Regions from separate parts of the Homo sapiens genome. Here regions 2, 3, 4, 5 and 6 are each linked to region 1. The links are contacts of gene promoters, found by promoter capture Hi-C in blood cells and fetal thymus (Javierre and others, 2016). All regions are on one chromosome and are shown on one strand. The core of a region is centred on a gene start or on the middle of the fragment in contact, and the rest is flanking DNA. Distances in the headings are between cores, read along the strand shown. Region 1 holds the start of HPS1 (HPS1 biogenesis of lysosomal organelles complex 3 subunit 1). Region 2 overlaps GOT1-DT (GOT1 divergent transcript). Region 3 overlaps CNNM1 (cyclin and CBS domain divalent metal cation transport mediator 1). Region 4 overlaps CNNM1 (cyclin and CBS domain divalent metal cation transport mediator 1). Region 5 has its middle 42 kb from the start of CNNM1. Region 6 overlaps HPSE2 (heparanase 2 (inactive)).

What was found. The method cuts DNA at HindIII sites, captures the fragments that hold promoters and counts their contacts. A CHiCAGO score of 5 or more calls a contact.
Region 2: a contact is called between a fragment that was not itself captured here and the fragment with the promoter of HPS1 in region 1, in 1 of 17 cell types (total CD4 T cells). The highest score is 5.5, in total CD4 T cells.
Region 3: a fragment that was not itself captured here is called in contact with the fragment with the promoter of HPS1 in region 1 in 1 of 17 cell types (naive CD8 T cells); the score reaches 6.4 in naive CD8 T cells.
Region 4: a contact is called between a fragment that was not itself captured here and the fragment with the promoter of HPS1 in region 1, in 1 of 17 cell types (total CD4 T cells). The highest score is 5.1, in total CD4 T cells.
Region 5: a fragment that was not itself captured here is called in contact with the fragment with the promoter of HPS1 in region 1 in 1 of 17 cell types (megakaryocytes); the score reaches 5.3 in megakaryocytes.
Region 6: a fragment that was not itself captured here is called in contact with the fragment with the promoter of HPS1 in region 1 in 1 of 17 cell types (total B cells); the score reaches 7.0 in total B cells.

Annotation. Positions count from the first base shown.
Region 1 is chr10:98,445,030-98,449,505 of GRCh38, forward strand. HPS1 (HPS1 biogenesis of lysosomal organelles complex 3 subunit 1) reads right to left here and starts at 1,906. Exons shown (of 20, transcript NM_000195.5): 1 at 1,778-1,906; 2 at 271-375. HPS1-AS1 (HPS1 antisense RNA 1) reads left to right here and starts at 1,292. Exons shown (of 3, transcript NR_134454.1): 1 at 1,292-1,728. RefSeq lists a silencer at 1,724-2,073. The HindIII fragment of the contact is 10,907 bases long and covers 1-4,476 here.
Region 2 is chr10:99,436,098-99,440,573 of GRCh38, forward strand. The region is part of intron 3 of GOT1-DT (GOT1 divergent transcript); the gene reads left to right. Among named protein-coding and RNA genes, the nearest start is that of GOT1-DT, 7.4 kb to the left of the region's middle. The HindIII fragment of the contact is 4,686 bases long and covers 1-4,476 here.
Region 3 is chr10:99,393,007-99,397,482 of GRCh38, forward strand. It overlaps CNNM1 (cyclin and CBS domain divalent metal cation transport mediator 1), which reads left to right. Exons shown (of 11, transcript NM_020348.3): 11 at 1-1,324. GOT1 (glutamic-oxaloacetic transaminase 1) reads right to left here. Exons shown (of 9, transcript NM_002079.3): 9 at 3,864-4,476. Among named protein-coding and RNA genes, the nearest start is that of GOT1, 35 kb to the right of the region's middle. The HindIII fragment of the contact is 3,598 bases long and covers 457-4,054 here.
Region 4 is chr10:99,368,805-99,373,280 of GRCh38, forward strand. The region is part of intron 6 of CNNM1 (cyclin and CBS domain divalent metal cation transport mediator 1); the gene reads left to right. Among named protein-coding and RNA genes, the nearest start is that of CNNM1, 42 kb to the left of the region's middle. The HindIII fragment of the contact is 1,529 bases long and covers 1,519-3,047 here.
Region 5 is chr10:99,285,452-99,289,927 of GRCh38, forward strand. It overlaps a transcript of HPSE2 not described here. Among named protein-coding and RNA genes, the nearest start is that of CNNM1, 42 kb to the right of the region's middle. The HindIII fragment of the contact is 1,705 bases long and covers 1,262-2,966 here.
Region 6 is chr10:99,226,226-99,230,701 of GRCh38, forward strand. All of the region lies in intron 2 of HPSE2 (heparanase 2 (inactive)), which reads right to left. Among named protein-coding and RNA genes, the nearest start is that of HPSE2, 7.4 kb to the right of the region's middle. The HindIII fragment of the contact is 2,073 bases long and covers 934-3,006 here.

The DNA of each region.
Region 1 (4,476 bases), core at 656-3,155:
GGTAATGAGTGCTCACCCCTTGGTGGGGGCTGGGAGGAGCTTTAAAGATGCAGCAGGCTGTGATGACCTGCCTGGATTCGAGGGGTGAAGGAGAGATGAGGCATCAGGATGGGGGTGGCCTCAGGATGCAGGGCTGGGGAGGGGATGAGCAGGTGTGCAGAGCCCAGTAGCACTCAGTCCACTGCCTACCTCATTCCATCTGCCTCCCAAAGCCCCAGGGTGGATGCTGCCTGCCTCCCTGTCCTCCCCAGGTGGGGCAAGATCATCTACCTTGGCAAGCACAGTGGAGCATCCAGACGGCCAGAGGTTCAGAAAGGGCTGCAGCAGACCGACTCGGTGACTGGCTCATGGGAGAGCAGCACAGCATCCCTGGTCCTGCAAATGCTTAAAACAGAGAGAATATGAGGGCAGGCAGATGCCCTGGTCTTGACTGCTGCCCGTTGAGAAAGGACAAGCTGGAGAAGGGCTGCGTGGTCCCTGGTCTCTCCAGGCCCTGAGGCAGTCTGCTAAGAACATATCTGGGATCCTGCCCCTCACCTCCCATAATGGAGAATAGGAACCCGGCCAGCACAGCCCTTTGCACAGAGCAGGTGCCCACTTTTGTTCCTTCCTCCTTTGTTCCCATGAAGTGCTCTCACTTCTGCGGGTCACTCAGAGCTCCCCAAGCAGCCCCAGGGAGCTTGCTAGGAGTGACTGACGGGAGACAGCATAGCACATCCCAGGTGGTGAGGATGCAGTCCCGGTGAAGGGAGTGGGGATCCTGGGATGATACGATGAATGGAAGGAAACTAACAGGAAAGGCATCTGGGACCAGGTTCTAGTTTTGGCTTTGCCAAGTCCCATAAACCTCTCTGAGCCTCAAACTCCTGCGGAGAAACAGAGCAACATCCCCTACTCTACCTCCCTACAGGGTTAGATCATGGGAGTGACCAGGCAAGCTGCAAAGTAACCTTAGCAAACTGCGTTCTTACATAGGTGTGGGGATCATTATTCCTATTTCCCAGCTTCCCTTCTTCAAATAACAGGATTAATCAATCTGGTTCCGGAATCATTCATATTTGAATAGAGGGCAGGAACAACAGAAAACTTAATTAGGAAGTCAAGCACTGTGAGCCAGTAAGAGGCAAGTGACTACCCGCCACAGAGACTGCTGTTACGAGTTCGGCCTTTAGCAGCCGAACCCTGAGACGGGCTCCATCACCCACATGATTGGCCCGAATGCCATATTCCCGAAACAGGGGGATGCTTCCCAAAGGCTGCTGGGAAGAGAACCTCGCCGGTGTCACACTGAGACTTCCGCTTCACCTCGCTATCTTGCCCTAGAAAGGGAACTCGGAGGGGACTCACTGACGAAAGGAGCTCCAGATGGCGGGGGGCCAACCTGGGGCGACCCCCAGCGCCCACTTTCACCATCTGGACCCCAGCAAACCTCCCTGTGGCCCTTGGTCCCGTCTTCAGCAGCTCCTTCTGGGGTCCCACACCTTCGGAGCCCGGCCCTGCCCCTGAGTCTCTGGAGAGAGCGAGTCAGCAGTTCGCCGCCGCGGGGCTCCCGTTTGCCTAGCACGCCAGTTTCTGTCCAGTTTCACCCCAAATCCCCACCTCCCCCCACCCCCGAACCTCACGGCCACCCTGGGAAGGAGGCTTGACTTGTGACATCCACCCCTCTTCACGGCTGAGGAACTTTGGCCCCGAGCGAGGAAGCGACCGGCCCACGGCCACACGCCCGGAGTGGGTGAGGCTAGGAGTGGGCCCGCTCCGGGACCCCTAGGGACCCTACCTCACTTCCGGGAGGGTTGAAGGGGGGCTCCGGAGGGAGGATCGCCGCCCCCAGAGGGGACAGCCCGGAGGCCCACGTACCGGATCGCGGCGCGCACAGCGCCCCGCCTGCAGGAGCCCGGGCGCGCTTCCGGGTAGGACCGCGTGATCGCGCACGTGACCGCCCGCCCCGGGAGGGGCCGGAGCCGCCGTCGCCTTCCGCGGGTTCGAGCCCCGCCCCTGCCAGGCCTTGCCCATGCCCCATTTTACAGAAGAGGAAACGGAGGCGCAGAGAGAAGAAATAACTTGCTGAGGGTCCGAACCAGGCTCAGAACCCAGGTTTCCTGGCTCCTCAGCTGATCCCTTCTCTCCTCCCCATGCCCCGGAACCTCAGGCTTTGCCTAATGAACTGAAGTTCTGGGGCTAGAGCTGTCCTTTTGTGACTGCTCTCCCTGACCTTTGGGGAGGTGACATAGCGCACAGAAGGGCTCAGTTGCCCCCAGAGTGCCAACGCTGGAATTTATAGGAGTTCTCAATCTATTTTGGGAGTGGAGTGCACATTAGGAGTTTTGTGTTGAACCTATGTTTGCAATATTTATTTTAAAAAATCGTATGTGTATTGGGGGTGCCTGGAAGTGGAGGGGGCGCTCTGGAAGGGCCTAAATCCCCGAACAGTCCACCCCTCAGTGCCTGGGTGCCACCTGGGAGCTTTGAGCCCAGCCCAGCAAGGTATGGGTTGCAAGAACTGGCTGGGGATATAGTAGATTGAGCATCTCTTGGGGGAAAGGCAGAGGCTAAGAATCAATACTTCCACCACCTGCAGATCAAAGAGAGCATCACTCCCCCCAACCCACTACCCACCCCTTCCAGCCCACCTTAGGGCAAATTCTTCCAACTCCCCATCTACAGCACATAGCCCTGCCACACGCATCTCTTTGCTCAGCCCACCGTTGAGATCGTTCACTCACTATGCTTTCAGTGGTCGAATGAATTCCATCAAATGGATATGCTGTTATTTACTTATTCATTCCCCTACTGGTAATTTCCATTTCCCAACTGCAATGTATGAGGATTCTGATTTCTCCACATCCTCACCAATGCTTGTTATTGTTGATTTTTTTTTTTTTAAGTATAGTAACCCAGCGTGGAGTGGTGTCTTGTGATTTTATTTGCACTTCCCTGACGTTCGGCATCTTTTCATGTGCTTTTTGCCTATTTGTGTACCTTCTCTGGAGAAATGTCTATTCAAATCCTTTATCCATTTTTAAATTGTCTTTATTATTGAGTTGTAAGAGTTCTTTATATGCTCTGGTTACAAGCCCCTTATCAGATACTTGATTTGCAAAAGTTTTTTTCCCATTATGTGGCTTGTCTTTTCACTTTCTTAGTGGTATCATTTGTAGCACCAAAGTTTTACATTTTTATGTAATCCAATATAATCTATTTTTTAGTTATGTACGGGTTTTTTGTGTCAACATGTTTCTTTTTTTCAAATTTGTTTGTGGTAAAATACATATAATGTAAAATTGATCATTAAGCATTTTAAGTGTATTGTTCAGTGGTATTAACTACATTCCTAATGCTATGCAGCCATCACCACCATCCATCTCCACAGCTCTTTTCATCTTTTAAAACTGAAACTATATCCATTAAGCAATAATGCTGGCCGGGTGTGGTGGCTCACACCTGTAATCCCAACACTTTGGGAGGTCAAGGCGGGCGGATCACAAAGTCAGGAGTTTGAGGTCACCCTAGCCAACATGGTGAAACCCTGTCTCTACTAAAAATACAAAATTAGCAGGGTGTGGTGGCACACAGCTGTAGTCCCAGTGACTCAGGAGGCTGAGTCAGGAGAATTGCTGGTACCAAGGAGGCAGAGGTTGCAGTGAGCCAAGATCATGCCACTGCACTCCAGCCTGGGCAACGGAGCGAGACTCCCATCTCAAAAACAACAACAAAAACAACAACAACAACAATTCTTCATTCCTCCTCATAGCAACCACAATGTTACTTTCTGTCTCTATGAATTTGACTACTCTAAGTACCTCATATAAGTAGAATCATACAGTATTTGTCTTTTTATGACTGGCTTATTTCACTTAGCATAATATTCTCAAGGTGCATTCATGTTGTAGCATATGTGAGAATTCCTTCCTTTTTTCTTTATTTTTAAGCCTAAATAATACTCTATAGTCTGTATATACTACATTTTGCTTATCCATTTATCTGCTGATGGACAATTGGGTTACATCCATTGTGAATAAGGCCATTATGAACATGAGTGTACAAATATCTCTTTGAGACTCTGCTTTCAATTCTTTTGGGCATATACCCAGAAGAGAAACTGCTAGATCATATGGTAATTCTATTTTTAATTTTTTAAGGAACTACCATACTGTTTTCCACAGCAGCTGCATCATTTTACATTCCCAACCTGGAACAAGTGTTCCAGTTTACCCACATCTTTGTCAACACTTGCTATTTTCTATTTTCTTTAAAATTTTTATAGTAGCCATCCTAATGGGTGTGAGGTAGTTCAACATAAGTTTATATTTCTCTTAGGTAAATATCTACTCATGGGATTGCTGGGCTGTATGGTAAGTCTGTGTTTAAATTTATATTAAACTGCTGAACCATTTTCCAAAGTGGATGTACCATTTTACATTCCTTCTAGCAACACTGAGAGGTGTAATTGCTCTGTAGTCTTGTTAGCACTTGATA
Region 2 (4,476 bases), core at 940-3,439, 990 kb after region 1:
GGGTTCGTTTAAAACAGTGTAATAAATTGTGGTAATCTAGTACACAAAGCTAGTAGGAACCTCGTTTATTAATAATATTTCAACATTGAGCAGTAGAGGGCAGCACTATCCTTCTTTTGCAAAATGTTGAGCACTCTTGAGAAGGAAAATAAAGGCAAAGCTCCTGACCCCTGTGTCTGTGTTTACTTTTACCATTAAAAAAAAACAAAAAATTGGAGTATTTTTATTATGGTTTAGGTGATTATGTATAAAGAATGTCAGAGCCTGCATTACCTGGAAGTGGTGCACCAGGTAATGCAAAAAACACGGAAGGTTTGAGGTCCCCCACTCAGGATATGGGTTCTGTCTAGTAAAGATAAACAGTAGCTTGACCCTGGGTAATCAGATAGGGTTATTGTATGAACAGACCTAATGCTCCTGCACGTTCTGGATAGAAGTCAATCTACTGAAATAGCAGGATGTAGTTTTAAAAAATGTGTGTAACTCATATAGTCTTAGCCCTGATAAGTGCTTCTAAATTCTTATTCACTGCCTTTATTCTGCTGTGTTAGTGTTGCTCTCTGTCATACGTGGGTCAGGTCAGAACTAGCTCAAATACAGTATGTGTATTATGACTTTAAGGAGTGGTGTCAGACAAGATGGGTAAAGAATGTCTTTCATGGGACTGCAGTTGGCTAAATGGCTGTGTATAAGTAGTGAAATTGAAGCCTTGTATGCTCGTCGTCATTCTATCACAGTATGATTTGAGTTTCCCTAACCGGTAAACAGCAAGAAAAAATGATCTGTTATTTTTTACTAAAGTTACTTGATGCTCTTTAGCAAGCTGACAGAATAATTCTAATTTTAGCAAATACAAAACCATGGTAATCCTAGCACATTTGGATTCTGTTTAACCCTGAAAACTCTTTTGGCAGCAAATCTTCAATGCCAATTTAGATAAATCCCACTAGGAATAAGCACTGAAAGACGTTGAGTCTAGTTCCCAGCTCTGCCATGTGAAGTTGGGCAAATTACAGTCTCTGAGCTTTTATTTCATCTGTTAAATGGAGATAATACCTCCTAGATTTATTAAAAGGGTCAATTTAGAAAATATGTATTAAAATGGTTTGAAAGCCATTTAAGTACCTAATGAATATTTCTATCACTGTAGCCCAAAAAGATTCCTGCCTAGAAGACTTTATGTCTCTTCTCCTCATTTGGTATCATTCTATTGCCTGAGATTGTTAATTAACTTTTATGTATACTCAATATTTTCTCCCAACTTGGTTGCTAGTTCCTTGAGAACTGAAACCATCAATTGCACTTCTTGGTATCCTCCACAATAAGGTATCTAGGTACTCAAATATTTGTTGGTTGATTAAAAACATAAACCACAAGACATAATTAACTCTTTTTAAAATTGTGGTAAAAAAACATGTATTTACCATCTTAATCATTTTTAAGTATACTGTATATTAGTGTTTACTATATGCACATTGTTGTGCAACACATCTCTAGGACTTTTTCATCCAGAATTCTTTTTTTTTGAGACAGAGTCTTGCTGTGTCGCCCAAGCTGGAGTTCAGTGGCACCATCCTGGCTCACTGCAACTGCTGCCTCCCAGGTTCAAGTGATTCTCCTGCCTCAGCCTCCCGAGTAGCTGGGATTACATGTGCCTGCCACCACGCCTGGCAAGTTTTTGTATTTTTAGTAGAAATGGTGTTTTACCATGTTGGCCAAGACTGGCCTAGAACTCCAGACCTCAAGTGATCCACCCGCCTCAGCAGCCCAAAGTGGTGGGATTACAGGCATGAGCAACTGTGCCTGGCCTAGCCATTTTCTATAAACCTGAAAATAGATGCCAGAAAAGAAGGTGCCGCTATAAAATGCTTTCTTGAGTGATTTATGTCTAACATACAATTAAACATTTATGAGAAGGAAATTATCAGGTTAAAATATAAACTCACTTGCCAATTATTTGATTTTCAGGATATCTGACTTTTGTTAATTACTGAAAATAAAGTATTATTTCTAATCACTATTGGTATCACAATAGCATTTTTATTTGGCCGGTATGTGTGAGGCCTGGAGTATGACGGGAAACTGTCCTAGAAAAGGCCCTTGCATTGGCTGTAGAGAGTTCTGGAACTCTCAAGATGGCAAGATTGTATTTAACTCTTTTAAAAACAATGCACCTTTTCAAGCACAGATTTTCATCTGATGTTGTGACCGTCAATTATGTCAGATTTGTTTGATATATTAAAAAATTGGTTTCTCCTTTGCACAAAATAAATTATAGATGGATATAAGATTTAAATATTTTAAACAATATAGGGAAAATAATATATTTGAAACATAGTATTAGGGTAGAATAGACTTTCCTAATCATGGCACAATCTCAGAAGCTATAAAGAAAATAATTGACTTTGCATGGCTATAGACACCATAAATAAATATGTGATAACATGGAAGAATATTTGCAACATGCTTATTAGTCACATCTGTTATATAGTCAGAGCTTCATTGTATTGGTGGAAAAATTAGGATATAAAGAAATTCAGAAAAGAATAAATACAAATAACCAGTAAACATGTCCAAAATCATCCTCATTATAAAATTGAAACCACGCTGATTTATCAATGTTTACCCATTAGACTGACAAACATTTTAAATGTTCAAAAAATAGTGTTGAGGGAAAAGAGCAATGACATGCACTATTGGGGAGACTGTCAATGAATAAAGCCTTTTCTTGTATTTTGGTAATAACAGTCAAAATGCACATAATACCATTTGACCAAGCAATTTCTCCTCTAGGAATCTATCCTAAAGAAATTTATACAAGTTTTCAAAGATAGGTATGTAGGCATACAGTTATGCATTGTAGCTTTGCTTTAACAGAAAAAGAGTAAACACATGTATTATTTTTGTAGCCTAAAAAAAAATCAAGTTTTCATTGAAAATAAAAATGACAGGTTTGAAGCAGGACAGTGGCCATGGAAGTCGAATCCACTAAGGCGTGTGTAACAAGTCACCTGCTGAGTCAACAAAAATAAATAAAAATTTTTTAAAAACAGGCTTGAGAGACACTTCACAGGAATAGAAAATTTAGATAGTTTCTAACAATGACAATGAAGTAGGACAGGAAAAAGTAATTCTCCAAAGCAAAGTATGTATGTGTGTAGTAACTTAAAACTTCAGATACTATGAGAAACTATTTTTAAATAAAGAACAATGTGGTGTGCTACAGTTTAGAGTTGATCTGGAAATCTGGGGAGCTATTGATGCTCCTTAGTTAATAAATTAGTGATTTTTAAAAATATGAATCCCCATTATCCGTAGCAAACTAACGCAGGAACAGAAAACCAAATACTGCCAAATACTGCATGTTCTCATAAGTGGGGCTGAATGATGAAGAACACATGGATACATGAAGGGGAATAACACACACTGGGGCCTGTCAGGGGTGGGAGTAGGAGGAAGGAGGGCATCAGAAAGAACAGCTAATGGATGCTTGGCTGAATAGCTAGGTGACAGGATGATCTATGCAGCAAACCACCACGGCACACATTTACCTATGTAACAAACCTGCACATCCTGCACATGTACTCCTGAACTTGAGAATTGAAGAAAAAAAATGAATCCCACAATTCTGTATCCAAAGACCGAGAACAGCTCCTGACATCGAACAGACAATAAATATTGGCTGAAGGAATGAATGAGGATATTTGCATCCGAGTTTTAATTAGAATAGATGTAAAATTGCCTAATGATTATTACTTGTTCTGCAACAAGTGTTTAATAGATACTAGTTCACTACTTATACGTGTCTAACACATCACAAAGGTTTATTTAAAAGAATTTATATAGTGCTTATTATATGTTGGGTACTGTTCTAAGTTCTTCACAAACACTAACTCATTCAAGTTGTATAAGTGAAGCAGGTGGTCTAATTATTCCATTTAACAGATGAGGCAATTGAGGCAAAGAGCAATTAAGTAACTTGCCCACGATGGCACAGCTAGACAATGGTGGGGATATGAACACAGTCTGCCTCCAGGGTCACTTCTCCATGGTGCCATATTGCATCCCACACGGTAAAAACTTACTAAATGTAAGAATGCATAAAGTGTTACTGTTTTTGAAATTATATTATGCTTTTGCCCCAGAAAGTCAGAATATTTGATATCAAATCATGTCTAAAAATCATTCCCACAACTTCCCTTTGAGGTAGAGCATATTTCTAAAATCATGTTTTAGTGTATTACTGGTTTAATAGTTGTGTTTAAAAAGAACATGGGAGGTCATTGTTCCTATGATAAAATCACTGTATTTGTTTTTTGACATCATATTCATTTCCATGACAACACTTCCAAGTTCCAAACACAGAAACATCTTGCTCTAGAAATGGAAGAGGCATAGGGCCTACAGAGAATTACATAACAATGTCAAAATTGTTTAAAGGGGTAAGGTTGTTTGTGTGTATTTTAATCTTTTGCA
Region 3 (4,476 bases), core at 1,006-3,505, 950 kb after region 1:
CAACCACAGCCAGCCTTAGGGAAAACTTGGAAGTAAGTGAAATTTGTCTTCAGAATAACTATCTCCCTTTCTGATCTGTCTCCTACTCTTTAGATGTTCTCAGTCAAGTACTCACTGAACTCATTGATCGAGTGCTGTCTGCTAAATCTCCAAACCATTCCCAAACCTTTCCCCGTAGTATACCATCCAGCTTCCCTCCCCTTCCTCCAAAACCCTCCCTCCCACCTCCCCACACCCATTGAGTCATTCACAGGCAGGAGGGAGACTGATCATTCCTCTGGGTTATCTGCATCTCAAAAGAAAATGCTTACCCACAGGAACTGTTAACTCAGGGGTTCTTAACTTGGGGTCCATCACCCCAGGGGGTCCATAGTTGGACTTCAGAGGGTCTATGAAACCCCTAAAACTGTCAGTATTTAATGTATTTATTCTTGTATGTTTTTTCCAGAGCATTAAAGCTTTCATAAGGTTCTCAAAGGTCTCAGACCTACAAAGAGTTAAAACAAACAGACAAACAAAAAAAAACACTACTATTTTAAATAGTGGAACTTTCAGCCCAGCGTTTCTGCAATGCAGAGTGAAGTGGATACTGGGCAGTTCGAGACAGGTTTTTAATCATAAGTGGTCTTTTCAAATGTCCATCAATTGATGGGGAAGGCTGGCACCCACCAAGAAGTGGAAGTCCTCAGAAATTCTCGGCACACCCTAGAGTATTGTACAACCAACACCCCCACATAACTTTGTCCCCTCTTCCCCAACAACCCAGAGCAGGTGTTGCAGACAGGAGGGCCACAGCGTGTGGAAGTAAAGACTTTGGAGCTAGAGAAGCCTTTTCCAGCAATGATTATTGACTTCACCACACCCCTTGCCTGGCCTGGCCTGAGGCTCAGCAGTGCATGACTTCTCGTAGATAACTTCACAGTCATCCAGTCCCAACACCTGCTCTTGCCTGGTAGGAACAGGCGAAGTGTCAGCCCTCAATGTTGGGTACTTAGACCCAAACCAATAAATGGTGAGTTTTGAACAAGAACTACCATCATGCAGGCTTCTTGCCCAGCTGACCACTGGCCCCGGGGTGCCTGCCTGGCTGGTCTTCATCACCTGAGGCCACCAGGCTCAAGCCACTGCTGTTGCATTACACCCATCCCTTTGCAAAATCCCTATGGAGCCTGTCACCACTCCCCTCCCTATATACCCCCACCCCACAAAGATTTTCTTCAGGTTAAAAAAAAAGTTTAAAAAAAAGATTTTAAAATAAAGCATTTATGAAGGCTTAATAAATTGTAAATAATTTTTAAATAAAATGAAAATGCCTTTCCTGGAATGTGGCTGTTTTCCTTGCCCCTGGAATCTTCTGACGTGGCTTCATTTGAGATGCAGGTTGAGTGATGCCCACGTGTGATGATCTCACCTGTGCACCACCTGCCTGAAGAGGCATGCCGCTCCGGGCCAGGTGTGAGGCTGCGGTGAGGTCACGGGGAAGCCTTGGCACACTACTTTGGGAGGCCAGATGGTAAGATTTTGCAGGAGTGAATGCCAGAAATGAGAAGTAAAACCCAAATGAGAAGCCAGTATGCATAAAGACGAGGAAGGAACTAAGACGACAGTGAGAAGGGCTGGCATTTGCTGAACCCATGTGATGGGTGAGGTGCTGTGCTGGGTGCCGTCCAAATTCAGGGTCTTGGGGGCTAAACCCAGACAAGCCCCTGAGACAGAATGTTGGTCACACTAGCTCGCTTCTGCAGAACCTTCAGAAAGGAGTCCAAGTGGCATGACTCTGGCAGTTTGCAACCAAAGGCTAGGGAACGGAACACAAGAATGGGCCAGGCCTGTTGGTCAGTTTTAAGCCGATGCTGGAGGGAGGGAACAGCCAGGCAGGTGGGAAGATGTGTTTGGGCATATAATACCTGTGTGGAAGGAAGGCTGAAATCTGACACCTACTACTCATTTCTCAAAGCAAACAGGAGGATCAGGGGCCTATGCCAAAACCTCTTAAGATTCTTCTCAGGAACCTCAGTAGAGGCTATTCATTTCACTAACGGTAATAATAAATAATGGAAACAACTATTTTGCCAAGGGCTTTATGTTCCAAGTATTCTGTTAAGTACCCATTAGCTCATTTCTTTCTCAACCACCCTGTGGAGGAGGGGTTACTGTCTGCAAGGTTACTGTCTTCTTGCTCACGGTTACACACCTGGGAACTGGCAGAGCCTGGAGGTTGGAGTGCCCTGCTCTTGAGTGAGCAAAATTGGTGAAACAATCCCACCTCTGAAGTTCACTGGCATGTCAGAGGCCTGAGGAGTCCTGCCGGCTTCCCAAACTCACAGCCCTTTTTCAGGTGAACGCAGTGGGAACCACACCAACCAACATATCTGTCGGAATAGAAGAAGGCCAGATTCCCATTGAGATGGGCTTTTTTCAAGGCTAAAAACATTTGAGCACTTTGGTACTGTCACTTAGATTTAAAGATGTGTTTATCTTTAATGGTTTTGGCAGCCCCCTAAAGAGAAAATTTTAATTTTCCCTAACAAGAGAAATTAAATACTAATAAGATGGTCAGGTAGGATTGCACTTTGGAAGGCAACATTTTAGTATTTCAGGCTTTTTTTTTTTTTGCCCCAGAGAGCCAATTTTCGTCCCCATGGAGGCAGTATCGTCCCCATGGAGAATGAGTGGTTGAAAGCGTTTGGAGAGAATGGCAGATTGACAGAAGGTAGAATCATTCGACTTCTCTGTTGGCTGCCTTCCCTTACTAACAACAAGCATCTTTACATTGGGAGGAGAACAAAGACTGATATGTTCAGAAAGCTGTGAAGAGATGGGTGGGAGGGCATCTAATCACATTCACTCATGAACTTCCACCAGCCCAACCACACACTGGCAGAGTGAGTGTCCTCTGAAGAACTCCTGGGGCTCCAGCCAGACAGGGAAGGATCTGGAAACCACATCCTGTGCAGAAACAAAAGTGGTGGGGGAGAGGCAGTTCATGTGGAAAAGTGTAAACAAGGAATGACAACTGCTACTTTCAAATATTTGAAAGGTGGTAGATTAGAAGTGCCAGTAGATTTACTATCTGTGGTTTAAAGGAAGGAAAGGAGGGGCAGGGGAGTGGAACAAAGATCAAATTCTGGTTCAAGGTAGATGAACTTTTACCGTGAGCAAAAGGTAAATGAGCCTCTTTTTTTTTAATTAAGAGGCCCCACCAGCAGAAGGGGATGCCTCACCAGGTATTTAAAGAATCCATCACCACTACCACCCCACCAGTTGAAATGGATGAGTCAGAGACAATATGGAGAGACTATTTCACTGGCGGAGAGGCAGGACTTGATGACTTCTGAGGCCCCAGTCATCCCTCAGGACTGCAGGATTTTCTAACAACCCAAATGAGTCCTAGAAAGTGGCAGATCCTATTAAAATCACAAGAATTAACTTTAAATACTTAAAAACTCCAATTAATAGACCTCTTGTGTTAAGTAACATCAAACCCCACCAAATTCTACAAAATGGCCATTTGGAGCGGCCCTTGGACTCTGGAAATTGTGATGTATGTTTTTGTGGTTCTGTTTCAATAAACCAGGAGGGACTCTGACAGCAGGGAACGGGCTGATGTTCTATAATCAACCTGAGTGATGTCATCTCCTCTCACAGTCCAAGAAGTCCAGTTTCTTAAGTAACATAAGACAGCTGGCCTCCAAATGACAAGCCCGCAAAATCACCAGGGAGTTATATGGTGAGTTCACTGAAGGAAGCTATACTGTAAGAACACATTGTAGTTTTTCCTTTAGCCACTAGTAAAACCCTCTAAAGCATTCATTTTAAACTGTGGGTCACAACCCATTAGTGGTCATAAAATCAACTCCATGTCTTGATCAACATTTTTATTTTATTTTTTTAGGTGAAGTAGAACACAATAGAATGGCTCAAAAATATCAGAATGCACTACGCACATCACGAGTAAATACTGTTTGGTAAAACTTGTTTCAGTTAAATATGTACGTGTCCGTGCATGTCATGATTAAATATCCTTCTTACCACAGTCACCCTAAAGAACCAAAGCTTAGGACTAGGGACACAACCATGCAGAAAGAGCAGGGAGACCAGACACTCTGGGTTGAGATGATGAATTTAATGCCGCAGCCGACACCCACATTCACACTTTGGCTCCTTCAGACAACTTGATCTTTGGGACTAGAATTTGTACAGAGTCAAACACCACATAGAAGCACGTGGCCGCCACACACAACACTCCTTTTTAGTGAGAGGGACAAGATACCTATGTCTCATGATCAAAGTACTCTTTTATTCTTAAATAAAAATCTTAATTTGCTTTGACCTCCAAAGGCTCTAATCCCAGTCTCCAAATTCGTCTCAAGGGATGTTCTCTTCATGTGGGGCCGGTTTAAACAGAGGCTGCCTCACCAGAGCAGCCTTTCAGTCCTGCAAGTGTCTCTAATCCATGGTATGTACATGTAGGTT
Region 4 (4,476 bases), core at 1,033-3,532, 920 kb after region 1:
AGCACTTTGCACAAATAGCACTCATTTGCACATACCACCCAGGCATTGCTGGTTCAGTGGTGTCATTTGTGAGTTTACCTCCCAGGAATGTATCTGTGTATGCACATGGAAAAATGGTGGGGGTGAGGGATAGTGTGAGTTTTTCCTCATTTGTCTGACTACAGAATGGAGGGATGAGGAGTACAGCATGAATGAAGTAGGAATAGTGGAATACTGTGCTTTATTTCTACCTATTTTCTTTCTACCTTTCTTTCCTTCCATGTCCTCATCTTCCTAATAATGTTACTATGTGATGATCATATGCTCACTAGCTCTGCTCGTACAAAGGATGCTATATGTAAAACTTTCAAAACAACTTTTCATTAGGTTTAACCTCTTTTGTTGATAAATGAAATAGTCACTGGGTTTCTTTTTAATCGGGTAACAATTCCTCATAGAGCTAGACAATGATTCAATGACTGAGTAGAATGCCACAAATCTGAATGATCAACCGTTTGTTTTCATCTCCAGTGGTTGTTCTCTTGGGCTCATAGAGCAAGTAATGACTAAACCAGGAATGTATTTGTTAAATTGCCCTGCAGTTAGAACACAGTCCAATTTCCTCTACCCTCTAAATCTGTATCCCTTATCACGTTGCTGGGGTAATGATACTAAGACCCCACCATATCCTCAGTCATCGAGAAATCGCTTATGTTTCTCTGTCTATATAGTAGACCCTCAACATTTAAAAAAGGTCATGTTTTGAGACTTCAAACCCTCCAATTTGCAACCTCAGAAGTATTTATGTTGACTTCTGTTTTTTCCCAAAATCACTTTTTTTCATCAAAAACCATCTGGTCCTCATGTTGATCTATACAAGATAAGTTAACCACCTTCTCAAATTTCACCAAAGTTTTCTCTCTCTCTCTCGATGGTGATTTTCCACTAAGAAATAGTTTTTCTTGCTTTGTGAGAGCTCATGCCTTCATAATGACTACAGGATCGGACAGTCAATGTGAAATGCCAATCTGGTGCCCTCACCAGCTAAATGGTCTACTCCTACATGCCCGCAAAATTAGAAATGACCACTTGATGGACCTTCAAGTTCCTTCACATGCAGTGAATCTTGGTGAATGCCAAGAGTGTGCTGTGAAGGTTCAGAGGAAAGGGGAGATGCACATTTTAAAAGACTTTCAGCCCAAAAGATCAAAGCGAGGATGTGTTTTCCTTTTTAATTAACCTTCAGTTAACCAGATGACCTAGTTAATTGTAACTTCCCAGTTAAAGGAAGGTTAATTCTAGTTCATCTGTATTGATTATTATAAAGTCCATGATAACCCAATGTCAGACAGAGATGAAAGTGATTCCCTCCTGCTGTGCAGAACCCCCAGGAAGTGCTGAGACTTCTGATCCAACTCTGGGTGGTGTCATGTGCCCCTGAGAGTATTTTCAACTTTCCCCCCTTTTCCATGACTGTGGATATTCAACACAACAGGAGATTAGTGTCAACACAATGGAAACCCTACCCATAAAGAGGTAAGCTTATTCCCACCCTTGGTTTAACTCTGCAGGGTGGAGCAATGGTGGGTACAGTGGGAGAAAACCAGAGGTAGGGAATGCCTAGTTTCTCCTTTGGCTTATTCCTCTCCACCTTGTGTCTGGTCTCTATCTAGAGCTAATCACTGTGCCTTCCCAGTGATCAGCTGACATCCACAGGACCTATTCTGTGGTATTTCCTCTGTCACTCTTGCTTTTGTTCCAAATCATTAAAAGAAGTAGCCTCAGAGGTCTGGGATTTTTGTAGAAAGAAGTTCCAGGTAACTTCTGGCCCTGTAAGCACAGACTTTGGAACCAAGGGCTCTTATTCAGTGCTCGATCGTCCATTCATAGTGTGCATTGAGATCAACAATGATGCCATTTTCTCCTAGAATATACCAAAGTACCTAAAAATTTTTTTTACTTTGCAAAATGTGCTAAGTGGAAATATTGATTTCTGATCCAGATACATTAATTTACATATATGCTAAATCTCAACCGTATCTTATATGGGAGGAAAATAAATCCTAGAGATTAGTAGGGTCTTGAAGTCTAAGAAAGAATTGTCATTGTCTGATTTGACTCCCCACAATCACTTTGGGAGATAGGCAGGAATAGTCATTGAAAAACAACAGATTAAAAAACAGGTTCTGAGAAAGTCAGTCAGTGTTGTATGTGTATTAGGTAGGCAGAGGGACAAGGACTGGAATCTAAGTCTTAGATCCTGCTCTCCACCTACTGCCTGGGACCTTGCTGTACCTCTGAATATAGACATTTTATGCCCCCTAGAGGGCTGTGATTTATTTGCATTTTGAAAGCAGTGCTAATTACGAATCTGGTGCTCGCACTAGATTGAGGCTAGGGGTCTCTGCACCAAATATTGCCATCATTATCCATAGGGAGTCTCTTTCTATTTGAGCCTTAGTTTGAAATAAGAACACAGTGGTTCACAGATTACCTCCAGGTTGTGGTGTGGTTAACCAACTTGGCAGGTGCTTTCATTTAAAAATGAAACTTCTGATCAGGGGTTTCCCCTGAAAGTACACAGCCCCACTGCAATTAGCATTCCCTTTCCCCATATTCACTCCTTCTTTCTTCTCCTGGTGGTGGAGATAATTTTGAATTCCCCATAACAGTCCTTTCAAATCCACAAAAGCACAGAGACAGAGACTTTGGAACCAACGGTTCTTTTTCAGTGCTCGGTTATCTATTCATAATGTGCACTGAGATCAATAATGACAGTTTTCTGCTTGAATATACAGGGAATCTCTAAAAATAATATTTCTACTTTGCAAAATGTGGTAAGTGGAAATATTCCTTCGGGTTGGCTCTTGTGTGATGAACATTTGGGAACCATTAAAGCTCCGTGTAAAGTGAATGAGTTCATCTGGGATCCTAACTTGGGCTTAGAGTTCACATCGTAGTTTTGACAGACAGCTGGCTTTGGTGTTCGGTTGTCTGATGCTAAATATTGCCCCAGTATAATGAATTTTAATAATTCTAGTTGGTACTCTTACAGGTCTATGTAATTAAGCTTCCTCATCCATTTTGGAGAACAGAGATGGCCCACGGCACAATCACAGTCAGACCAAAGTAGGCCATTCCCCCTCATCCCTCACTGATGGTACAAAAGATGTAGGCAGGCAACCCCTGAACCCTCCTTTTTCCTCAAATCCTCATAGGGAAAATGGGAGCTTAGCATTCTACTTCTGTATCTTGGGGTCTGATTCCAGGATAGGGTTGTGAAGGCTCCCTGGATACAGGTGTCACAAATGAAGCAAGAGTCCCAGAGCTGCTGTGTATAGATTTTCAGGGCCCCTGACTATTACTACAGAAGGAGAGGAGATTCCATCCAGCCCCGATTACAGTGTGAAGTCCTCTTCCATACCCTTTGCCACCCTGCCCCCAATTTTACCCTAGTGCCTTCCCCACCCAAACCTCAGCAATCCAAGTAGCCAACCCAGGACAGATATCTGTTAGAGACTGACCACTCAAAGGCTGCAGGAATGAGGTCTGCCACAATTTCACAGAGCAGAAAACCCTGCTCCCCATCACCCGGTTACACCTGAGCCAACCTGAGGGTCTGATGCAAGAGCAAGAGTGGGCAAGGGATGGGTTGGTTGCTTGGCCTGCTGCCTGCTGACAGGTCCCGGGTTGGTGTCACATATCATACTGTTTGATCTGTCTCCTTCCAGACCTCCTTGCATTATACTTAGGATTTTCCTCCTCGCTTCACTCCCCCAAGCTGTGCCTCTGTGCTCTTAGGATATGCCAAGGGGAATTACACAACTTGAACTAGTTTGCCATGCTGCTAAGACACTCGTCTGTTACTGATTTCTTCTGCTTTTTATTAAAAGCATTTCCATGTCCCTTGCTCAGAAACCTCTGAGTGTATATGCATAATTACCAAAATGCCAAGTCATCAGCATCCAACCTACTAAGGAATGTCAGACTCCAGGACACGAAAACATTGATCTTGCGCAATACTCAGAGGGGCCGGGACTTTCTCACGGAGTAAAGGTTCTTTTTTCTTTTAAAAATTGCTTTTATAGACTCGATCTTTGTAAGACAATTGTATCGTTTGGTGTTGGGAATCCTTTATGATTTTATAAATAAACTTTCAATAACATTGTTTTTACTTTAAAAAAAAAGACATGTTTTTCCTCCTCCCAGCACAATAGTGATGTAGCTTGTGTTTGACATGTGAGTCCTTGTGGGTGTCATCTACACTGGGTGCCAGTGAAATGATGAGAGCTTTGGAGGGAACTGGGATGTAGCTGTTGCCTCTGTTTTCAACAGGAGAAGCTTCCACGGATGGAAGGAGTTTAGTAGATAAAATAGGGCTATTTCCCTGTTGTCTTCCCTGAACATATCTTGAATTGTGACATAAGAGATGAGGATGTGGAACAACTGGTGTAGGGTGTGTGAAGCCCATGTCTGGCCAGGCAAAGTGGAGGATTA
Region 5 (4,476 bases), core at 864-3,363, 840 kb after region 1:
TGAAAGAAAGGGAAGGAAGGAAGGAAGGGAGGGAGGGAGGGAGGGAGGGAAAGGAAAGGGAAGGAGTAGGGTGGAGGGAGGGAGGGGAGGAAGGGAGGAGGGAGGGGAAGGGAAAGGTGAGGGATGGAGGAAGGAAGGATAAAATGGGTGATGGACTTGAATAGACACTTCTCCAAAGAAAATATATAAATGAGGCTGGGTGTGCAGTGGCTCACACCTGTAATCCCAGCACTTTGGGAGGCCAAGGTGGGTGGATTGCAGCCAGGAGTTCAAGATCAGCCTGGGCAACATGGTGAGATCCCGTCTCTACAAAAAATACAAAAATTAGCCAGGTATGGTGGCACATGCCTATAATCCCAGCTACTCTGGAAACTGAGGTGGGAGGATCATGTGAACCCAGGAGGCAGAGGTTGAAGTGAGCTGAGTTTGCACCACTGCACTCCAGCCTGGGGAATAGAGCAAGACCCTGTCTCAAAATTATATATATATACACACACAATCAGCAGGCACATGAAAACGTATTCCAATCATTAGTCATTAGGAAATGCAAATCAAAACCACAATGAGACACCACTTCACATGCACTAGGTTGGCTATAACAAAAGTGAGAGAGAGAGAGAAGAAATATTGCTGAGGATGTAGAGAAATCAGAATCCTCATACATAGCTAATGGGAACGTGAAATTACACAGCTGCTGTGGAAACAGCTTGGCAGTTCCTCAAAAAATTAAACGTGGAATTACCAACAATATGACCCAACAATTCCACTTGTTATATATCCAAATAATTGAACAGATGGACTCAAATACTTCTACATGAATGCCCACAGCAGCATTATTCACAATAACCTAGAAGGTGAATATGATCCACGTTGTCTATCATCAGATGAATGGATAAATAAAATCTTATATATGTACACAATGGAATAGTCAGCCATAAAAATGAATGAACCTTGAAAACACACTAAGCAAAACAAGCCAGACATAAAAGGACAAATATTGTATGATTCCACTTATATGAAATATCTAGAATGAGCAAATTCATAGAGACAGAAAATAGATTAGTGGTCACCAGGGGCTGGGGAAAGTGGGCGATGAGGGTTAGTGCTTAATAGGTAAAGACTTTCAGTATGGGGTGATGAAAAAGTTTTGGAAATAATGGTGATGACTGTATGACATTGTGAATATAATGACATTGAATTATACACTTAAAAATTGTTAAAATGAAAATTTTCTGTTATGTATATTTCATCACAATAAAAAAGCTTTATAAATGAAAAAAATTAATGTGTTAAAAAACAAAATATTTAAGACTTATCCCATTACATTAATGTTGATACCAACCAGTATTCCTTGAGTACTGTTAAATGCTTGGAACTGTGCAAACTGCTTAATAGGATAGTCTCTCATTTAATTCTCACTGTAACACTGTAAGATAGATACTTTTATCATCCCATTTTTTGAATAAGAAGAATGATGCTTAGAGAGCTTGCAGTAAGCAGTGATGCATAGATTTGAACTTGAAATTCACCCTCTTAATCACTATCCTATACTTGGGGATCGCTAAATACCTCTCACAAACAACATAATAGCAGAGATTTGTTTCATTTATCTTTGTATCTCCAGCATCTAGTACAGAACCTTCCCTAGAGCAGAATTCATTAAATGTTTGTTGAATTATCTTAGAGCTAATCCTGCAAATATCAAACGTGTTGGTTCAGGTCCTCTGAAAAGCAAATGCCAAGAAGGAATCAGACATCCAAGAGATTTACTTAGGGAAATGCCCACGAAGGATCAAGGAGAGAAGCAGCAGGAATAAATGAGGAGAGCCTTCAAGTTATGATTAGGTATGACAATTGTGAAAGAAGAGAAGGAATGAGGACTGGGCAGGAAGAACCTCAAGCTAGAGCACAGCTCAGAGAAAGTCTTCACCAGGCCAACATGGAGTGTCCAAGCAAAGACTGCCATCAGAGGAGTCCCAGTTGAGCAGAAATGGCCCAACCTAGTAAACCAGCTGAGCTCAGTCATTGGCTGGGAGCAGCAGTGGGTGTGAGGGTGGCAGGGGTGTGTGGCTTGGAGTGAACATCACAGACAATGTGAAGAGAATATGGTCTGGTGTGAACATCTGGAGTCATCCAGCTATGTTTCTTGCAGCAGATCCTCTTAAATGGAGATCTGAGCAGTACACCTCCAGGATTATCACACCAACTTCAAACATTTACCTTAAGAAAATGGAAATTTTTCCCTAGGTGGTTCACTTTAAAACAAGGGAGTCTGAAAATCAATAGCATTCATATCTCAATGTAGAGATGTATATTTTGATGTCTCAAGCTCATTCAGCCATTACTTTGCCAAAGTTGCTTATCTTTAATAACTGGTAAATAAGAAAGCTAGTTACTGAGGAGTAAAAATAGTTTATACTAAAAATGGCTTCTGGTAGGGGATCCTAAACCCAAGTCAAAAAAGAAAGAAATGTTGTGGAACACTAGTCATTGGATTAAGACAGCATGAGGTTAGATTCTTCTAGAAGCTGTAGCTAAAGGGGTTAGGTCATGTCATATTTTGAATTTTACAGGTAGAACTGACGTAATAATTTGAGTTGAAAAAATGTAAGAATAGGGTTCACAGTAAGTTGAGAAATTTAACATGATGAGAGTGAGAGTGAAGGAAATAAGTTAAGACCCTAGGTAAGTCCTTTCTCAGGGCTTCAGTTTCCCCATTCCTAAAATCTAAGGGATAGGCTAGATTACATCGTGTTCTTTAAATTGTGTTCCAGGGAGCCCTGAGCAAGAAAATCTAGAACATGATGTTGAACTGGTAGGGTCACGGTGGATGGTTCTGTTAAGCTCTACCACGATAGCTTACACATAAGTTCCATGTGTGATTTTATGTTGTATATATTTATGTACATGATACAAAAGACTTCTGCCACTTTAATACAAAAGCAACTAGGTATCTTGAAGTTCTAAGCTTTTAGAATTTAATTATCCCAGAATAAAAAGAAGGTGTAAATTCTGAAAAAGAGTAAAAGGCAGAGAAGGAGGAGGAGAAGGATGGCTAAAATAAGACATATAACTGATGAAAAGTTTATCTCCTTTCCACCAAAATGAGGGAATGAAATGAGGAAAAATACATGGGATCCAGGAACCAGGGAATTCAACACAGGAGAAAAGCAAAGGGAACCCAAGGTAATGGTGAAGGGGGACACTGGGAACTATACAGCTGTACAGCAGCCTAGAGAACAATCAATCCAGATTGGAAAAAGACATGAAAGAGCTGCAAGAGGGACAGCCTCAAGCAAAAAAAAAAAAAAAAAAAAAGAATGAAAACTGGTAGATTATATGTTTGAGTGAATTGAGGAAACATAATGGAGAATCTGGGATGAAATAATGATAGATGCATTTAAAAATCAGCCAGGTAATTCTCAACCCTAAGGAAAATAAAATTTGTGTAAGAAAGAAATTTAATTATGGTATACTTATATAGTTTAGCTGTGAATATTTTCATAGTATTAGTAATCATTAAAATACCAGCTAAAAATCTAATATAATTAAATTGGGCCATGGTCACTGTCTTCTGTTTTACCAAGCCCCAAAAGATTTTTTCACATGGTAACATTCTGCGTCCCTGTAAGAAGTGACAAAAAATGGAGACTTGGGTCATAGGAGAGGCAATTTAAGAAGCATCAGGAGTGCCTAAAGATGGACTGAGAGGCAGCTGATGTTTGAAACCATCCACAGTGCAACAGATTGCAAAATTTCAGGTTGCGTAAATAAGGTAAAGTCTCTAAAAAATCTGTAGTACTTAAACTAAATCATAAATAGAAGATGAAACAATTTACGTGGCTGCAAAAAATATTATTTCTAATATTAGAACCCAAGAGTGTGTTAATGGAGACATCATCTGTTTTTTTTTTGGAACTTTCTTCTTCGTTTGGTTGTAGTAAATGTCCTATTCCTTTACTTTTCACATCCTACAATTACTGGTGGCAATTTTTAGCAATAAAAAATTGTTATCCATGATTTTTCTTTTTAGAATGCAGTTTATATTATTCTGATTGAGTCATCTTCTTGAAAGTTAATTAATTTTTTACTCAGTGCCAAGAGTATTTTAACATAGGGGGAATATCAGTGGAGTAAAAATATTATTTCATATAAAAGTTAAGGTTTTCCAATCACAGATGACTAGTTTTTTAAAGTAGTTATTTTCTTTTTCTTCAACTTATGGTGCCCTACTTGCAATGAAATGCCATTTTCTTTAAATTCTGACGTCTTGGCAAAGGGTTATTTTAACCGACACTCAAGTCAGAAGCTTATTTGTAATGTTCTTTCACTTCAGTTTACGGCAAATTAAATTATGGTTTCAGTTAAACAAAATTACATTAAAAACTGTACTGCTGAAATAAATAAATACCAGCTAACGAAAGGTTATATTATAACTAGAAGACAAGGGGAGCAGGAGGAGGACAGGGCAGTATA
Region 6 (4,476 bases), core at 720-3,219, 780 kb after region 1:
TATCTAACTCCCACCTAAGTCTCACCAGCATTCAACTCTACTTTTCTTGTTATACCCTGGCAAACTATTATATTCCACTTAGCACTTCATTCTAAATTGTCTTTCTGTTATTCTTCAGTTTTGTCAGTGTTAATGTTGTCTCACCAACTACACTATTGGTTCATTGACAGCAGATGCAGTATCTTTTGAAGAATACAAGTCAGGTATCTTGTAGAGTATCCTTCAGTTTGGGTTTGACTAATGTTTTCTCATGTTTACTGAGAGTTACAGATTTGGGGAAAGAATATTACATGGTGAAGTGCCCTTCTCATTATATCATATCAGAGAATAATACATGATATCAATATGACTTATCTGCTGATGTTAACCTTAGTCATTGATAAAATGATATCTGTCAATTTCTTCAGTGAAAAGTTACTATTTTCCCCTTTGGAGACTCTCTTCTTTAAATCCAAGTCACACTCAAGGGAAGAAGAATTAAGCTCCACCTCCCAGAGGTGGAGAATTTGTGGACATATATTAAAACCACCACAATAATTAGTTAATAAATATTATGAGGGAGATGCTTTAAGGCTATGCAAATATCCTCTTTTAAAGTTCCACCCGCTAAGTCCAACACTTGATTAAGGTATCTCGCCTAAAGCAATTATTACTGTTGTGTTCTAATGGTGATTTGGGATAGCATCTTTTATTTATTTTATATTCTGCCATTCTTTGTCTAGCATGAAACTAAACAGAGAGTAGATAATCAGTACATACTTATTAAATGTAACAGAATTTCAAAACCATTATGTGAAATAAAATGAGATAATAGAAAGTGGATAAGTTCAAGGCAAATATGTATTTTGGCAGTTGTGCTGTTCTTACACCATAAGTCTTGATTGATAGAATGGGATTAAAAAGAAAAAGAATTAATTACTTCATCTGTGGAAAAGCTTCCTAGAGAAAAGAGAATAATAATAGTTATACAGTGTCTTAGAGTTTACAAAGTATACACACATTCATCATTTAGAATTCAGAAGCTCTCTGAAGAGAAAAATCTTCAGGAGATAAAGATAAAAGATATTTGAAAGTTGTGAAAAGGCACTGTTACACCAGGAATTGAAAAATCAGGAATAGAAATTACATTAGACTAACAAAGAAAAGCAAAAGTAAAGGCAAGGTAGAAACAGATACAATTTTTTAAAATGTAGTTCTAGTGCAAGGCTTTAAACTGGGTAATAAAGTTAATTTAACACATAGCATAAAATAAAGACAACTTAGACAACCACAGATAAAGAGCACATGGTTAAAATCATGAAGAATGCCATTAAAAAATAAGCATCAAGAATGGACTGCATGGGAATATGTGTTGAAAGTGTAAAATGAATGGAATCTTCATGTATACCTTCAGTCATTTCTCCACTGGTCACCTCCATTTTCCCAGGGCCTTTCACAGTGCTTTTAACCTAGCATACACCCAAGAAAATTTGCTGAAGATCTACCATGTGTCATAAAGGCTAGACATTGTGGATATACAATAATTAGATACGGTGTCTTCCTATAAAGAATTTGCATTCTAGATGGAAAGGTAAAATATATATATATATGTATATATATAAAGTTGAATGTCTATATATATATATAAAGTTGAATGTGTATATATGTGTGTGTGTGTGTGTGTGTGTGTATATACATATATATATATATACATAAAATTAAATGGCAAAACAAGGCAGAAGGAGCCAAAAGAAAAGCATAAAGAGTAAAAGCTACAGCAGTCTAAAGAAAGAAGAGATCACTGTGGAATGACCTGTTCAAGAACAGTTTTGTGCAAATAAGGAACATTTGCAATGGGCCTTCAAAAACTAGGTGAGATGGAATAAGCTCTGACTTAAGCCAAGAGAAATACATTCAATGCATATTCATATAGTAACTGAACAAAGGTACGGGGTTGAGATAATAAAGGTGCTTTAAGAAGACAGTGAACAATCAAGTAAGTTGGGCTGTAATAAAAGGTATATGGAAACACAGGGTAGTGAAAGTAAGCTGAGACTGAAATGTGAAAGGTTTTGAATGTCAGGTTGAGGAGTTTGAACATATTATGTAAGCAATCCAAAAATAACCATAGTTTTTTAGCAAAAGAGCAACATGATGAATATGACATTTTAGAAATATTAAGCTGGCTTTTGATGTACATTTAAAAAATGGTGTACATCTTCATTAAAGATGCAGTTATGGTCTTAAAAAAACATGCATACAAATAAATCACATTGAATACAATACAAAGAGGGGAAGACTGGAAAAAAATAAACTTAAGAACAGAAGAATAACCCAAGATTTCCTTGTTGAGAGCAGGTAAAGCATAACATTACATAGAACAAAAAGGAAGTTAGGCAACAGTAAGATTCCTTGGGTATAAAGAACAACTCTATTTTTACTTCTTCCATCATCACTATTTGTGTATATAATTCAAGGTGCCTAAGCATAGAGTAGAATAGTTAACTGCATTAAAGGAGTAACCAGTGAAGCTCCCAAAGTGATACATAAACAGTGGTTTTACAAAGTTAGAGAAAATACAGTTGCATTAATGTGCTCAGAAAGTATCTGGAAAACAGAAGACACATGAGTTGTTAATTGCATTATTAATTCATGGGAAAACAAGGGGAACAACAAAATCACATCGGGGCCAGGCACAGTGGCTCATGTCTGTAATCCCAGCACTTTGGGGAGGCTGAACTGGGCAGATCAGTTGAGGTCAGGAGTTCAAGACCAGCCTGGCCAACATGGTGAAATCCCATCTCTACTAAAAATACAAAAATTAGCGAGGCATGGTGACGCACACCTGTAATCCCAGCTACTGAAGAGGCTGAGGCACGAAAATCACTCTACCTGGGAGGTAGAGATTGCAGTAAATCAAGATAATGCCACTGCCCTCTAGCCTGGGCAAAAGAGGAGACTCCATATCGAAAAAAAAAAAAAAACTTATCAGGGTAGCAATATAAACGGATTAACCAGAAAAGTGGAAGCTTTTTGCTCAATGCTACAACTATCCATTCATTTTAACATTAGTACATAACAAAAGCCACCTTTGGTTCTCAACTCTGTTCCTTAAAGATAATTCTCCTTACATTCTCTCAATCCTCTCAGGTAATTCCATAAATCTACCTTCTGCCTTCTGTAAAAGCTTCAGTCTCATTAAATCTTACTCACTCCTTAATCCCACTTTAAAACATTAAATATATATTAGAAATTTGCTGAAGTTGCCTTTAATGAATGTAAGAATCCTTACCTTTCTTATAGTGTTGTGCAGTCAAAAAAATAACTTACAAACATTACCTCTTAGAACCTTCAGAGAAGCAAGGTACAGCAGGTAATCATCATCATCCACATGCTATAAACAGTAAGCCCTGGGCCACACATTCATAAGTCATAGGGCCAGGCATGCAGTGCAACCTTCCTAAGTCCAAATTCCATTTTCTCTTCACTGTATCATTCAGTTTCATAATGTGCCAGTAGGTATATCTTATTACTCAAAATGTATGTTGTTATTCTGTACTACGTCTAAGTAAATACATTTTTTAATAAGATGCCTTTATGCCCAAGTGCTTACTACAGGACCATTTCCTAAGAAGGCTTAATTACTTTAAGATGCTCATGATGATAACAGTTATCACTAGATGAAAAGGGACAACAGAAGCATAATGTTTTCAAAATTGCTGAGACTATACCAAGAACATTTTGCCTTGAATTCTGCAATGCAACATGCAACAACAAAGACAGTATGGGTAATTTAAGGATATGTGAGCTTCAAAGGGCAGAAATAGGACATTCTCATTCTCTTTAACTCTGCTAAAGCCTCAAATACTGATATAGTTCAGAGCATCTTATTACTAGGAAAACATAAATCAAAAGGAGTTCGGCTAGGAGCAATAAAACAGATTAGTGTCTGGAAGGACTGACTTTAAAGAAAGTTTTAAAAGAATTAGATCCAGGTAGTCTAGATAAAAAACAGCTATGAGGAAACATTTTTTTTTAAGCTAACACTCACACCAAAGGCAGAAATTATTTTGAAGATAGATGTCTAAAAAATGCAAACAGGAATAATTGTAAATCCTTATAAAGGGAAAATTCAGGAGAAATTTCCCAGCAAAAGCTTATGGGACAGAAGAACTCTCTCCCCTATGAGTGGTGAAAAACTACATTCCTAGAGATATTTAATGCCAGGTTGGACAAAACAAGAAAAGGATTCCATATGGAATGATCCTATACTGGCCCCTAACGTGATAGAGGACTGAAGGTAACCTCTTAGATCTTTTCCGTTTATGTTTTTTTTTTAATTTTATATAGTTTTACAGGGCACTGCCTTCTGCCAATTTCTTTTCTCCCCATGATGCCCACTTTCTCCTTTCACAAAGGGAAACAAATTGTAGCCTTCATTTTAAACAGATCTCATTGTTCTCAGTGTAACATAATCCTAGGTACAAAGTTGGGAGA